Linked DNA regions of Homo sapiens: region 2 is linked to region 1. The links are contacts of gene promoters, found by promoter capture Hi-C in blood cells and fetal thymus (Javierre and others, 2016). All regions are on one chromosome and are shown on one strand. The core of a region is centred on a gene start or on the middle of the fragment in contact, and the rest is flanking DNA. Distances in the headings are between cores, read along the strand shown. Region 1 holds the start of BEST3 (bestrophin 3). Region 2 overlaps PTPRB (protein tyrosine phosphatase receptor type B).

Region 1 (6,081 bases), core at 481-2,980:
AAGGTTCAGATTTTTGAGACTGTATCTTACACAATATCTGATGGCCATTTAAGGAGACATGTAAAGAAAAGTACCTGTATACCAAACTTATTGCTGTATAAAGAACAGCAAAAACAATAAATTCCCTGTACAGTAGTTTGTAGATGCTGCCTCTCCACTTGAGGAGTAACCTATGAAATCCAAAAAAAGTTGCATTTGCTACTTTACTGGAGTAAGTGACAGTCATCTTGGATAGTTTTTTCTAGAAGAGCAAGAAGACAAAACACAAGTAAAAAGCAATGTTTAAAATAGGGCATAAATCTGTATGTCTGTATATCAAGGAAATTCAAGCCAGCAACTAGTCAGCCATATCTCTGTTTTGTCTTTCTTAGTTTCTATAATTCGGAACTTTCAGATAACCATTATCTCAGTTTAGCAGAAAGCAGGAGGAAAGCAGTCTCTGGGAAGAGTAATATTAGACATCTTAAACTTGCCTTAACTGTTAAATATTATTTTTAGATTATATAGCCATTGGCCAATATATATTTGAATGAACAAATGAGACAAACAAGGCCCTCGTGAGAATTTAATTGATGGGGCACTTTTGGTGGGTTTGATTGCATGTAGATGTCTCTCTAGTGGAGGTCCAAATGCATCGTTAGCACTCATTGCATTTCAAAAGTCAGCCAAAAAGTTGGGTCATAGTGATAAATAAGAATGGTGCAGTTTCCCCATGACAAGTTGTACATAAATGCTTAGGGATGGTTCACATTCTCTTTGGAGTTGAACAAAATGAGGTCATTATTTACAACTCTTTCTACTTGAGTCCATTTCATGAATGTGGTTAGGATGAGCACTGGGCCCAAAAGCCTTGTTTTTGGTGAGTTCTTTGGAATTCCACCACTTTTCACCAAGACATTAAATATTCAGGTTTTGAAACAGACAGCGCAAAGCTAATCTTTGAAAATCTTGCTCAATTTCTGGCTAAGATAGAACATATGCAAATAAAATGAGATTTATTTAAAATCTTACTTTTCTCAAAAGGATCTATGAGGAGAGTCTTATAGAGCTACTTAGACTGAAATCATGAAGCTTTTAGATAGAATTGTACTAGACACAAAAAATAAATTCTGTAGCAGATTTCTTTTGTAAAGTAGCCTACACCACACATTTTATCATAAACAAGAAAATTTTCTATCTTTACTCATTGCTGGAAAAACAATTCAACTCTGATTTGCCTATTTTCCCTAAGGAAATGAAACTCTGGAGCTACGTTTACAGCATTTTCTAAAATCACAAACTTAGCTTTCAACATTACTGATTTTAATAAAGAAGGTAGGGCCTTTTGGCACAAGTAAGTGGCATTACAAAAGGATGGGACTCATGCCACAAAACCGGTTTTATTTTTCCATCTTTACCTTGTCTATTTGCCTAGTGCGAATACAGCCAAAATTGGGAGAGGAGCATAATAAATTAAACCCATTTCATAATTTGTTCTCATGGACTCCCGGTAGTTTTAAATAACAGTCCTTAATTAACTTTCCTTTCTTTCATTTAGTAGTTCACTCTTCTTTTCAAGCTCTGCCAGGAAAATGAAAATCACAGCAAGTAGAGGTCAGAATTAAAATGCATAGGTTTACTCTGGGCACTAACCTATTTATTTGGTTTGTAGTCTCCGACAGGAAAGAGAATCTTCAAATTTCGGGCTCCCCCGAAGAGGTGCCTTCAGGTCGGTGCTGCACGCCCGGTGTCACCCTTCGCTCGTGCACAGTCAGATTTTCTTTCTGTTCTCTGGCCACTGAGAGGACCCAGAGTGTGACAAGAACAGGGGTTAAATGTTTTTCCACTTGTAGAGGCCTGTTTATGCCAGTTTAGCCACTGATGACAGTTATAGCTGGGAACAAACAGAAGCAACAGCTGCTGATGCTGCTTTTTTCTAAGCTATAATTATAACTCCACCTGCCACCCCAAGTACCCCTTTGAATGAGAAGTTGGCAGTGACATGAAGGATGTTGGGCCGTTTGTCTGTTAGATTCATTTGACTCCACCCTGGGATCAAGGAAGAAAGGTTGATTTGGCCCTAAAGAGTTCAAAAAAGAGGCCCCACCAGCCAAAAAAAAAAAAAAAAAGTCTTTTTGTGCTTGAAATGAAGATTAAATTCTTAAAACTGGGCTGGAACGCGGTGGCCCACACCTGTAATCCTAGCACTTTGGGAGGCTGAGGCAGGCAGATCACCTGAGGTCAGGAGTTCGAGACCAGCCTGGCCAACATGGTGAAACGCTGTCTCTACTAAAAATACAAAAATTAGCTGGGTCTGGCGGTGGGCTCCTGCAATCCCACCTACTTGGGAGGTTAAGGCTGGAGAATCACTGGAACCCAGGAGGCGGAGGTTGCAGTGAGCTGAGATCACACCACTGCACTCCAGCCTGGGCGACAGAGCGAGACTCTGCCTCAAAAAACAGATGAAAAAATTCTTATGAAGCCATAAACTGGGGCAGACAAGAATATAAACAGGATTTTTGCCACTTGAGAGGTGTTGAAAATGTTCTTCAATTAAAAGCAACGATTATGTGTTAGTGTGTGTGTGGTGTGTGTTTGTGTGTTAGAAGAACACATAGAGAATCATGATATATTGATGGCTTAGTGTAGTGGGAAATAATAACACATGGATTCATCACATTTTTTTTCTTTTAAGATGGAGTCTCGCTCTGTCGCCCAGGCTGGAGTGCAGTGGCACGATCTTGGCTCACTGCAACCTCACCTCCCGGGTTCAAGCGATTTTCCTCCCTCAGCCTCCCAAGTAGCTGGGATTACAGGTGCACACCATCACACCGGCTAATTTTTTATATTTTTGGTAGAGATGAGGCTTCACCATGTTGGCCAGGCTGATCTCGAGCTCCTTACCTCAAGTGATCTGCCTGCCTCGGCCTTCCAAAATGCTGGGATTACAGGCGTGAGGCAACGCACCCGGCCAGATTCATCACATTTGTTATCCTTCCATGGTCAGCTAGGAAATTTTTTCTTTTTTTTTTTGAGATGGAGCTTTGCTCTTCTTGCCCAGGCTGGAGTGCAATGGTGCCGATCACGGTGCACTGCAACCTCCGCCTCCCGGGTTCAAGCGATTCTCCTGCCTCAGCCTCCTGAGTAGCTGGGATTACAGGCATGCGCCACCATGCCCAGCTAATTTTGTATTTTTAGTAGAGACAGGGTTTCTCCATGTTGGTCAGTCTGGTCTTGAACCCCCGACCTCAGGTGATATGCCTGCCTCGGCCTCTCAAAGTGCTGGGATTACAGGTGTGAGCCCACCACACCCGGCGCATAGTTTCTTTCTTTTCTTTTCCTTCCTTCCTTCCTTCCTTCCTTCCTTCCTTCCTTCCTTCCTTCCTTCCTTCCTTCCTTCGTTCCTTCCTTCGTTCCTTCCTTCCTTCCTTCCTTCCCTCCCTCCCTCCCTCCCTCTCTCTCTCTCTCTTCTTTCTTTCTTTCTTTTTTTGAGACACAGTCTCACTCTGTCGCTTAGGCTGGAGTGCAATGGCACAATCTTGGCTCACTGCAACCTCTGCCTCCTGGGTTCATGCAATTCTCCTGCCTTAGCCTCCCGAGTAGCTGGGACTACAGGCGTGTCCCACCACACCTGGCTAATTTTTGTATTTTTGGTAGAGAGGGAGTTTCACCATATTGGTCAGGCTGGTCTTGAACTCCTGACCTGGTGATTCGCCCTCCTCAGCCTCCCAAAGTGCTGGAATTATAGGCGTGAGCCATCGCGCCCAGCCCCATATTTTCTTTCTTAAAAGAGAGAATTCACCAGCGTTCTTTAAGTAATAAAATAAATAATTTCAGGGCCAATTCCTGGGACTTTTCCAACCTTCTAAAGTAACTTGTGCACCCTTGCACCTTAACTTAAAGAAAATGTATTTTTGTGGAGAAAGATATAGAAAAAAATGCTTATTCTAAAATTAAGATTACATATAATTAAATTTTTCTAAAACAGTAAGTTTTATATGCATTTCGCTGGATTCTTTATCAAATTCTAGGTACCTTAGATTAGAGCAAAGCCAGGGCTGTAGGTATCTTTTTAATTTCTTGCCCCCATCCCTGTTCATAATTCCAGTATGGAGCCCTGTGAATAATGAATATTTAGTATGTATTTGCTGTTTGATTATTCCTTACCTTCACTATTATAATTCTGTTGGTTATTTGAGGGAATTTGTGAACATTTAAAAAGCATATATACAATGTTGCACATCTTATGTTGTGTTGCCATGAAAAGTGGTCTGATAGATCTGATGTTATGTTTATAAAGGTTTGCAAGACGAATCTCAGCAAATCTAAACCCAAATGCTTATGAAATAGGAACATCGGAGGTATTTTGTAAAATTCTCACTCTTGCATCTCCTATTGGTTGTGTGGTGGCCCTGACAGCTGGCATATTCCCAGCAGCCATGACTGCATAGCTAGGGGATCTGCCTCTGTGGGGCACTGAACGCACTGTTGGTTGGTTTCATTTCTAAACAGGGATAATTATGTTCCTCTCTCCCATTGGGTTGTTTTGAGGAATGACTAATTAATGGTTGGAGACAGCATTCTAAATGCAAATTAGTCAATAATGATCAGATTGAATGAACAAACTCCCATTGTTGAGCTCTGAATCTGGTGGTGATTTCTAACAGGTACTGAAAGAGGCCTTGTCGAAATAGCCCTGCTTAGAGGAGACAAGCCACTAAAGCTTATTTTAAAATATCCAACAAACACCGGATTGCAAAGTTGAAGGCTCATATCACTTTTTAAATCGAACTTTAAAGTTTCTTTAGAAATTTTTTTCCAGATTCTAAAAGTAAAATATGATTATTAAAAAATAAAAAGGAAAACAACATATAAAGAAGACAGTGGCACTCTGTCCTGCCACACTAGAGGGGTGGTATCATTTGGCATAAAGTTAATCTTGCTAGACTTTTGTGGAAAATATTTTAACCCTATAATTAATAGCAAACGATATGATAGACCCTTAGGCAATTTCAGGGCTCTATGAAATAACTATACCAGCCATATTTTCCCTTGACAGTAAACATCAAGTTATGTGATTTTGACCACTCTGATTTTCAACAGTCCAGAGTAGCACATTTGTCTTTGATTCCAGTAAACCTCCAATGACAGGGCAATTCATAGAAAAGAACAAGGAATCATTTCCACTTGGAATCCTGATATTCACCTATAGATGTCAAAATAAATCTCTTTGTTCCTTAAGGAAACAGGAAATAGTAACAACAACAAGTTTACGTAGCCAATACCACCTTCTACTTGAGAAGCAGCTATTTAGAAAGCCCCACATTCATTTTAAACTGATTTGACATGTCTCCACTGACATGAGAAGTCTCTTGTCAAATTTCTTCTGAGTGATTAGTTGAACATAAATTGTGTGTAGATAACACATGTATTCAAATATTAACCAAAGACCAGACGTTGTATTTTGGAGGATTTGATTCTGAACCTAAGACTTTGGGACATTACTAAGTGGGCAATCAATCAATGTTTTTGATGGGGAAAGGGTTCGAAAAAATCCGAGCTGCAGAAATGTGAGTCTCTGGGAAGAGTGTGTGATGAATTGGAGTGGGTAGGGACTATAGAAGGGGAATCAATTTGAAGGTTATTTTGGTTGTTCTGGGATAAACTGGGATGGTGGGTGGGTGGGTGGGTGGAATGCAGAGGAAGGATGGTGGGAGAGAGCCCAGGGGATAGCTACCACTGCAGGGAGGGGAAGAAGAGCAGGGGTAGGCGAGAGGAGGAGGAGAAGGAGGAGGAGGAAAAGGAGGAGGCAAGAGGAGGAGGAGGAGGAAAGAGAAGTATCATATGACACTTCCTTTGTCCTTTGAGTCTGTTTGCTCATGAAGAACAAAGATTATGGAACATGATTCTCAAATTTGTTCAGGTATGCTGTTCTTGATGACATGCCATGAACTTTTGATGTGTTTTATTTTATCCTGCAAATAAAAACATTCTACCAGCAAAAATGGATGCAAACTCAAGTTTCAAGTGGGAGCCCATGTGCCCATAAAAAAATAAAGTTGCTGAATTAAGTATGATTAGTCTGGCCCAGGCACAGTGGCT
Region 2 (6,567 bases), core at 215-2,714, 880 kb after region 1:
TAATAATTATCAAAGCTTCTATTGGGTTTATGTAATTTTTTTCTAAGAAATGAACATACATTTTATATATCATATATATTAATTTTTTATGTTCTTTCATTGTATTACATAGAAAATTCTATGTAATTTCTTCCTCGGTGCCATGGCTCCCTGACATACATGACCATAATGACACTTATTTGTTTACTTAGCTTTCTAACAGGGAGCTATTAAGGTCAAGAAAAATTGTTTAGATAGCATATTAAGCACTTGTTTAACGTTGCTTATGAAAATATATGAGACCTGAAAATTAGATCAACTCCACCTCTAACCATATTAATTGGAGATCATTTTCTTTTTATGTCTTGCAAACCAAGAATATATAAGAGTGAAAGATGCTTTCTTTGGGAGGTTTGTTTTGTTTTTTATCCATTATTGTTTACCTTAACTGGAACATAAACATTTCAAAGGAAATCAACTGAATAGGGGGATAAGTCTAGACATCGAGTGAGGAGTTCTTACATGTTCATTGGAGATGTTAAAATATTCAGCCAGGAGTGGTGGCTCACGCCTGTAATCCCAGAACTTTGGGAGGCCGAGGCGGGTGGATCACCTGAGGTCAGGAGTTCGAGAGCAGCCTGACCAACGTGGAGAAACCCTGTCTCTACTAAAAATACAAAGTTAGCAGGGCGTGGTGGCACACGCCTGTAATCCCAGCTACTCGGGAGACTGAGGCAGGAGAATTGCTGAACCCAGGAGGCGGAGGTTGCGGTGAGCCGAGATCACGCCATCGCACTCCAGCCTGAGCAACCAGAGCGAAATTCCGTCTCAAAAAAAAAAAAAAAAATCAGAATTTATTCTCTCTTGCCATCACCCATCGCCCAATTTCCATTCCATATACCTTCTGGATGGCTAGCTTTTGTGAAACTTAGCTTTTGTAAAGGCCAGGGATGAGTCTGATTTTAGGATATTTCTATAATATTCTGATTAGGGGTCTCATGTACTCAGATCTTAGTTAAGTCACAGACACATATCTCTACTTCTTACCTGTTCTTCCCTCCACAACCACTTGTCGGGAAGAGATCCCTCCACTCACTGTTGTTACCACCACGGAGTACAGGCTGCCGGACTTGAGAGAGTGGAAGCTGTATCTGCTGGTCTCACTGGAGATGCTTTCATTTTTAATGACCACATTTTCATGGATCAGTAAGACTTGGTAAAATTCTACGTCTCCTTGTGCCTGGGTCCAGTTAGTAAACAGACTACTGGTCATTCCTTGGTTGGCCACATGCAAGTCAGTCACTTGGGCAGGCACTAAAACAGTAGACAGAAGAAAAAACAAATGACACTTAGTCACCTTAAGAAAGTGTAAGAAAAATGAGTCAAAAAATGGAGACAGACTTGAAAGTACTAAAAATAATTTTTGTGTTGTTGCTATAGACTCTCAGTTCTATTTCCTGTGGCATATGGAGAACTACTCCTCTAGAGAGGCTCTAGTACTTTGAAAAAGCTGCTTATATAGGGAATCAAAATTATTTAAGATCCAAAGATGAGATGATGCATGCTTATTAAGTGGTTTTGATTTTAAATTTTAGATAATGAAGGCTGCTATTTTTGAAAACTGCTTAGTTAATGTGATTTTATCTGTCCTTACCCCATGAGAATTCAAAGCTATCTAATCTACCTGAGCCAATGATTGTTATGGGGTGGTATTGGGAATTCCCTTCAGTCTGTTGATTATGGTCTAGCAAACTGATTAGTTCTATACTGGCACATTCTTAAAGGGGCTGTTATTATACATGAACATGTGATAATAATATAAATTATAATATATATATTAAAAAATAATGATAATAACAACAACTACTGAAGGCCTACTATGTGCCAGTTATGAGCTATATGTCTCATAAAGGTTACATTATTTGACACCCATTCAGAACTCTATAAAGTTGACTTTATTATTCCATTTATTAACAAGGAAACCAAGGATCATAAAATGTAAGTAATTTAGCCTATATCACAGTGCTAACAAATAGCCAACCTGGAACTGAAAGCTAGATTTATCTAACCCCTAAGCCTGTGTCCTTTTCCTAATTAACAACATTTATTTCTTCCAACTTATCATTTAACAAATCTTATACACAGATCTTGAAGTTGGCACTTGGTCAACATACATTCTTCTTTGTGCCTCTTTCCTGAATTACAATAATCAAAGGGACTGGAACCTTGGCACCCCTCTTTCTCAAAGTTCATTGACTTCTGGATTAAGATACAAAAGCGTTCATTAAAAAAATCCTACTGTATATGGATCAGATTCAATTCTAAAGATTCAATTATAATTCTAAATTTTATATGAAAGGCAAACAGCTACAGTGGCCAAAGCAATTTTGAAAAAGATGAATAAAGTTAGAGGACTAACACCACCTGATTTCACTAAAAATCTTGTAATCAAGACAGGATAATACTGGCAAAGGGCAGACAGAAACATAGATTGATAGAACAGAATTGAGAGCCCAGAGATAGAAGAATATGCTATCAATGGATTTTTTAGAGATTCAAAGGCAATTTCATGGAGAAAAGATAGTCTTTTCAATACATAGAGGTAGAATTATCAGATGTCTATATGCAAAGAAAAAAACCTTCACCTATATCTCACATCATATATAAAAATTAACTCAAAATGGGTCGCAGACCTACATTTAAAACCTAAAACTATAACCTTCTAGGAGAAAACCTTTGTGACCTTGATTTAGGCAAATATTTTTAGATATGACACCACAGCATGATTTATGAAAGAAAAAAACTGATAAATTGGACATCAAAATGAAAAACCGACAGAAAACATTTTGACCAAGGACAAACAAACAATCCTATTTTAAAATCCAGCAAAATATTTGAACAAAAACTTCCCCAGAAAAGATAAATGGGTGACAAATAAGCTTGTGAAAGGATTCTCAAACCCATTAGACATTAGAAAAAGGCAAATTAAAACCACATGAGCTATCATTATCTTATTATAATGGCTATTCCATTAGAATGGCTAAATTTTAAAACAAACTGCTAATACCATGTACTACATGCTGAGAACACGGAGGAAGTGGAAATTTCATACATTGCTGGTGGGAATGTAAAATTTTACAATACTTTGGAAAGCAGTTTGGCAGTTTTCTACAAAGTTAAACATGCATTTACCATATGACCCAGCAATATGGGTGGTGGGGATGATAAAAATGACCTTAGGTCTAAAACAATGTCTTGGACTTCCCTTTCTGGCAGTATGATAGGCTAGATACCATGAAAATCCTTCTAATAAACACAACTATACATATTGGATAAAATGTGAAAATGTAAATGAATGACTTGTCAGGAATGTAAGAGATTCTCAAAGGCCAAAAAGTAAAGGATAGAGAGGTAATTGGATCATAAAGCGAACTGTTGTGTTGAGAGCACCTTTCAAATGCAAATGTAAGCTTTGATTTTATAGCACTGCAGGATATTGGAGAAAGGAGGTAAAGTGTAGATTTTTCCAGGCTGAAGAAACTCATAGCTGACCTTGCATAACATTGGAAAGGCTACATTCTAAGTATAAGTGAAATAAATAGTCTCTCTTTACTCCCCATACAACTTCAGCCTTCTTAATACTGGATGGAGAAAACGATTTCCTCTGAGAACTCATAACCTTAAGATAGTTTCAATGTGTTTGCAACCTGAATTTATAAAACCCAGGTGATCAAAGAACCTAAAGTTGACAATTTAGATTAAAGTAGGTCTGGTTTGATAGCAGTCTTGTGCACCTGAAAGAATCAAATGAAAATTCTTTCTGAAACTCACCTTCAAACATGGCCTTAAATAATTTCCACAGAATAAAATTCTAGGGAAAACAGGCTTACAGTAAAAAGAAATCACATACATTTAAAGAAATAAAGCAACATAAACAAAAGGCAGGAAAATCAAAAGACAACAGAACTTAACTCCTGAAGATTTCAGCTATTATAATTATCAGACATAGGATGGAAAATAAACATTGTTAATTTGCATATAACAATACAGGAGGGGAATGAAAATATAACTAAAGAGCAACAGAGCACAACATAAATTTGAAAGAGAGCCAAAGAGAATGCTTAAAAGTGAACATAACAATTAAAATTTAAAACAGTGGGTAGATTTTAAAATAGATTAGACAAAGCTGAAGAAAGAATTAATGAAATGAATCAAAGATATGAGAAAGTTACCTATACTGTAGTTCAGAGAGAAAACACATGGAAAATATGAAATATATTGATGTGTTCATATATGTGTGTTCTAGAATACCAGAAGATGACAGAGTGGGGAATGGAGAAGGGGCAAGAGGCAATATTAGAGAGTTAATAGCTGAGAATTTCCAGGATTGTAGAAAGACACTAGTTGGAAAGTACAGAAATGCCAATCAATCTTGAGCAAGAGAAACAAAAAGAAATATATCTACACCTTGATCATTATTGTGAAACAACTGAACCCCAAAGGCAAAAAAGCAGTCATAGCAAACAGACTCATAGAGAAATAAAAATCAGACTGACAGCTGACTCAGCGCAACAATAAATCCCAGAAAGACTAGAATAATATCTTTTATGTGCTGAGAGAAAGTAACTTTAAACACAGAGTTGGAACTTAAGGAAAATATCTTTCAAGACCGAGAGCTATATAAAAATGAGAGCTATATAAAAATATGCCCAGCAAAAACAAAATTTGAGAGAGTTTGTCCCTAGAAACTCTCAATGAAGAAATTTGAATAACGTTCTCCAGGATAAAGGAAAATAATCCCAGATAAAACATCTCAGATGCAGGGGGAAAAAATGAGAAAAAAGGTAGTAAATTGGTAGGTAAATCTAAACAGATGTTGACTATATAAAGCAATAATTATATTTTTGTGGGATCAAAAGAGGAGAGAAAAATAAGATACAGGACAATAGTATATACATTGAAAAAAGAAATTTCTTTTTTTTTTTTTTTTTGAGGCAGGTTCTCGCTCTATCACCCAGGCTAGTGTGCAGTGGCAGGATCTCGACTCATGCAACCTCCACCTCCTGGGTTTAAGTGATTCTTATGCCTCAGCCTCCCGAGTATCTGGGATTACAGGTATGTGCCACCACTCCCAGCTAATTTTTGTGTTTTTAGTAGAGACAGTGTCTTGCCATGTTGGCCAGGCTGGTCTTGAATTCCTGGCCTCAAGATCCACCCATCTCGGCCTCCCAAAGTGCTGGGATTACAGATGTGAGCCACGGCGTCCAACTAAAAAGGGAAATCTTGATGACTTTGCTTCCAATTACACTGAAAAAAATGAAAGCAATTAGAAGATAACTGCTCACCCTACAACGATCCACCTATTGGCATCTGCACCCACATATTCTCTCTTTCCTAGCTGATACGGTTTGGCTCTGTGTCCCCACCCAAATCTCATCTTGAATTGTAATCCCCATGTGTCCAAGGAGGGAGGTGACTGGATCATGGGAGTGGTTTCCCCCATGCTGTTCTTGTGTTAGTGAGTGATTTCTCACAAGATCTGATGGTTTTATAAGGGGCTCTTTCCCCTTTCATCTCCATCACTTCCCCTCCTGCCACCTTGTGAAGAAGGTGCCTGCTTCCCCTTCACCTTCCACCATGATTTTTAAAAATTAATTAATTAATTAATTTTATTACACTTTAAGTTCTAGGGTACCTGTGCACAACATGCAGTTTTGTTACATAGGTATACATGTGCCATGTTGGTGTGCTGTGCCCATTAACTCATCATTTACATTAGATATGTCTCCTAATGCTATCCCTCCCCCGACCCCCGACCCCACAACAGGCCCCGGTGTGTGATGTTCCCCACTCTGTGTCCAAGTGTTCTCATTGTTCAATTCCCACCTATGAGTGAGAACATGTGGTGTTTGATTTTCTGTCTTTGGGATAGTTTGCTCAGAATGATGGTTTCCAGCTTCATTCACGTCCCTACCAAGGACACGAACTCATCCTTTTTTATGGCTGCATAGTATTCTGTGGTGTAATATGTGCCACATTTTCCTAATCCAGTCTATCATTGATGGACATTCGGGTTGGTTCCAAGTCTTTGCTATTGTGAATAGTGCCGCAATAAACATACGTGTGCATGTGTCTTTATAGCAGCATGATTTATAATCTTTTGGGTATATACCTAGTAATGGGATGGCTGGGTCAAATGGTATTTCTAGTTCTAGATCCTTGAGGATTTGCCAGACTGTCTTCCACAATGGTTGAAATAGTTTACAGTCCCACCAACAGTGTAAAAGTGTTCGTATCTCTCCACATCCTCTCCAGCACCTGTTGTTTCTTGACTTTTTAATGATCGCCATTCTAACTGAACTTCCACCATGATTATAAGTTTCCTGAGGCCTCCCTAGTCATGTGGAACTGTGAGTCAATTAAACCTCTTTCCTTTATAAATTACCCAGTCTTGGGTAGGATCTTTATAGTAGTGTGAAAACAGACTAATATACCAGCTGACATTGAGATTAGATTCCCCATGCTCCTTTCTAAAGCCAATTCCTTCACTTGTGCTCTAGATCCCAATACCTCTTGCCTACTCATGGA

Evidence for each region. The method cuts DNA at HindIII sites, captures the fragments that hold promoters and counts their contacts. A CHiCAGO score of 5 or more calls a contact.
Region 2: a contact is called between a fragment that was not itself captured here and the fragment with the promoter of BEST3 in region 1, in 2 of 17 cell types (M2 macrophages and total CD8 T cells). The highest score is 5.9, in M2 macrophages.

The regions. Positions count from the first base shown.
Region 1 is chr12:69,697,573-69,703,653 of GRCh38, forward strand. It overlaps BEST3 (bestrophin 3), which reads right to left and starts at 1,731. Exons shown (of 10, transcript NM_032735.3): 1 at 1,633-1,731; 2 at 75-241. The coding sequence starts at 226. The HindIII fragment of the contact is 3,631 bases long and covers 1,070-4,700 here.
Region 2 is chr12:70,580,010-70,586,576 of GRCh38, forward strand. It overlaps PTPRB (protein tyrosine phosphatase receptor type B), which reads right to left. Exons shown (of 34, transcript NM_001109754.4): 10 at 1,027-1,293. Among named protein-coding and RNA genes, the nearest start is that of PTPRB, 54 kb to the right of the region's middle. The HindIII fragment of the contact is 2,903 bases long and covers 14-2,916 here.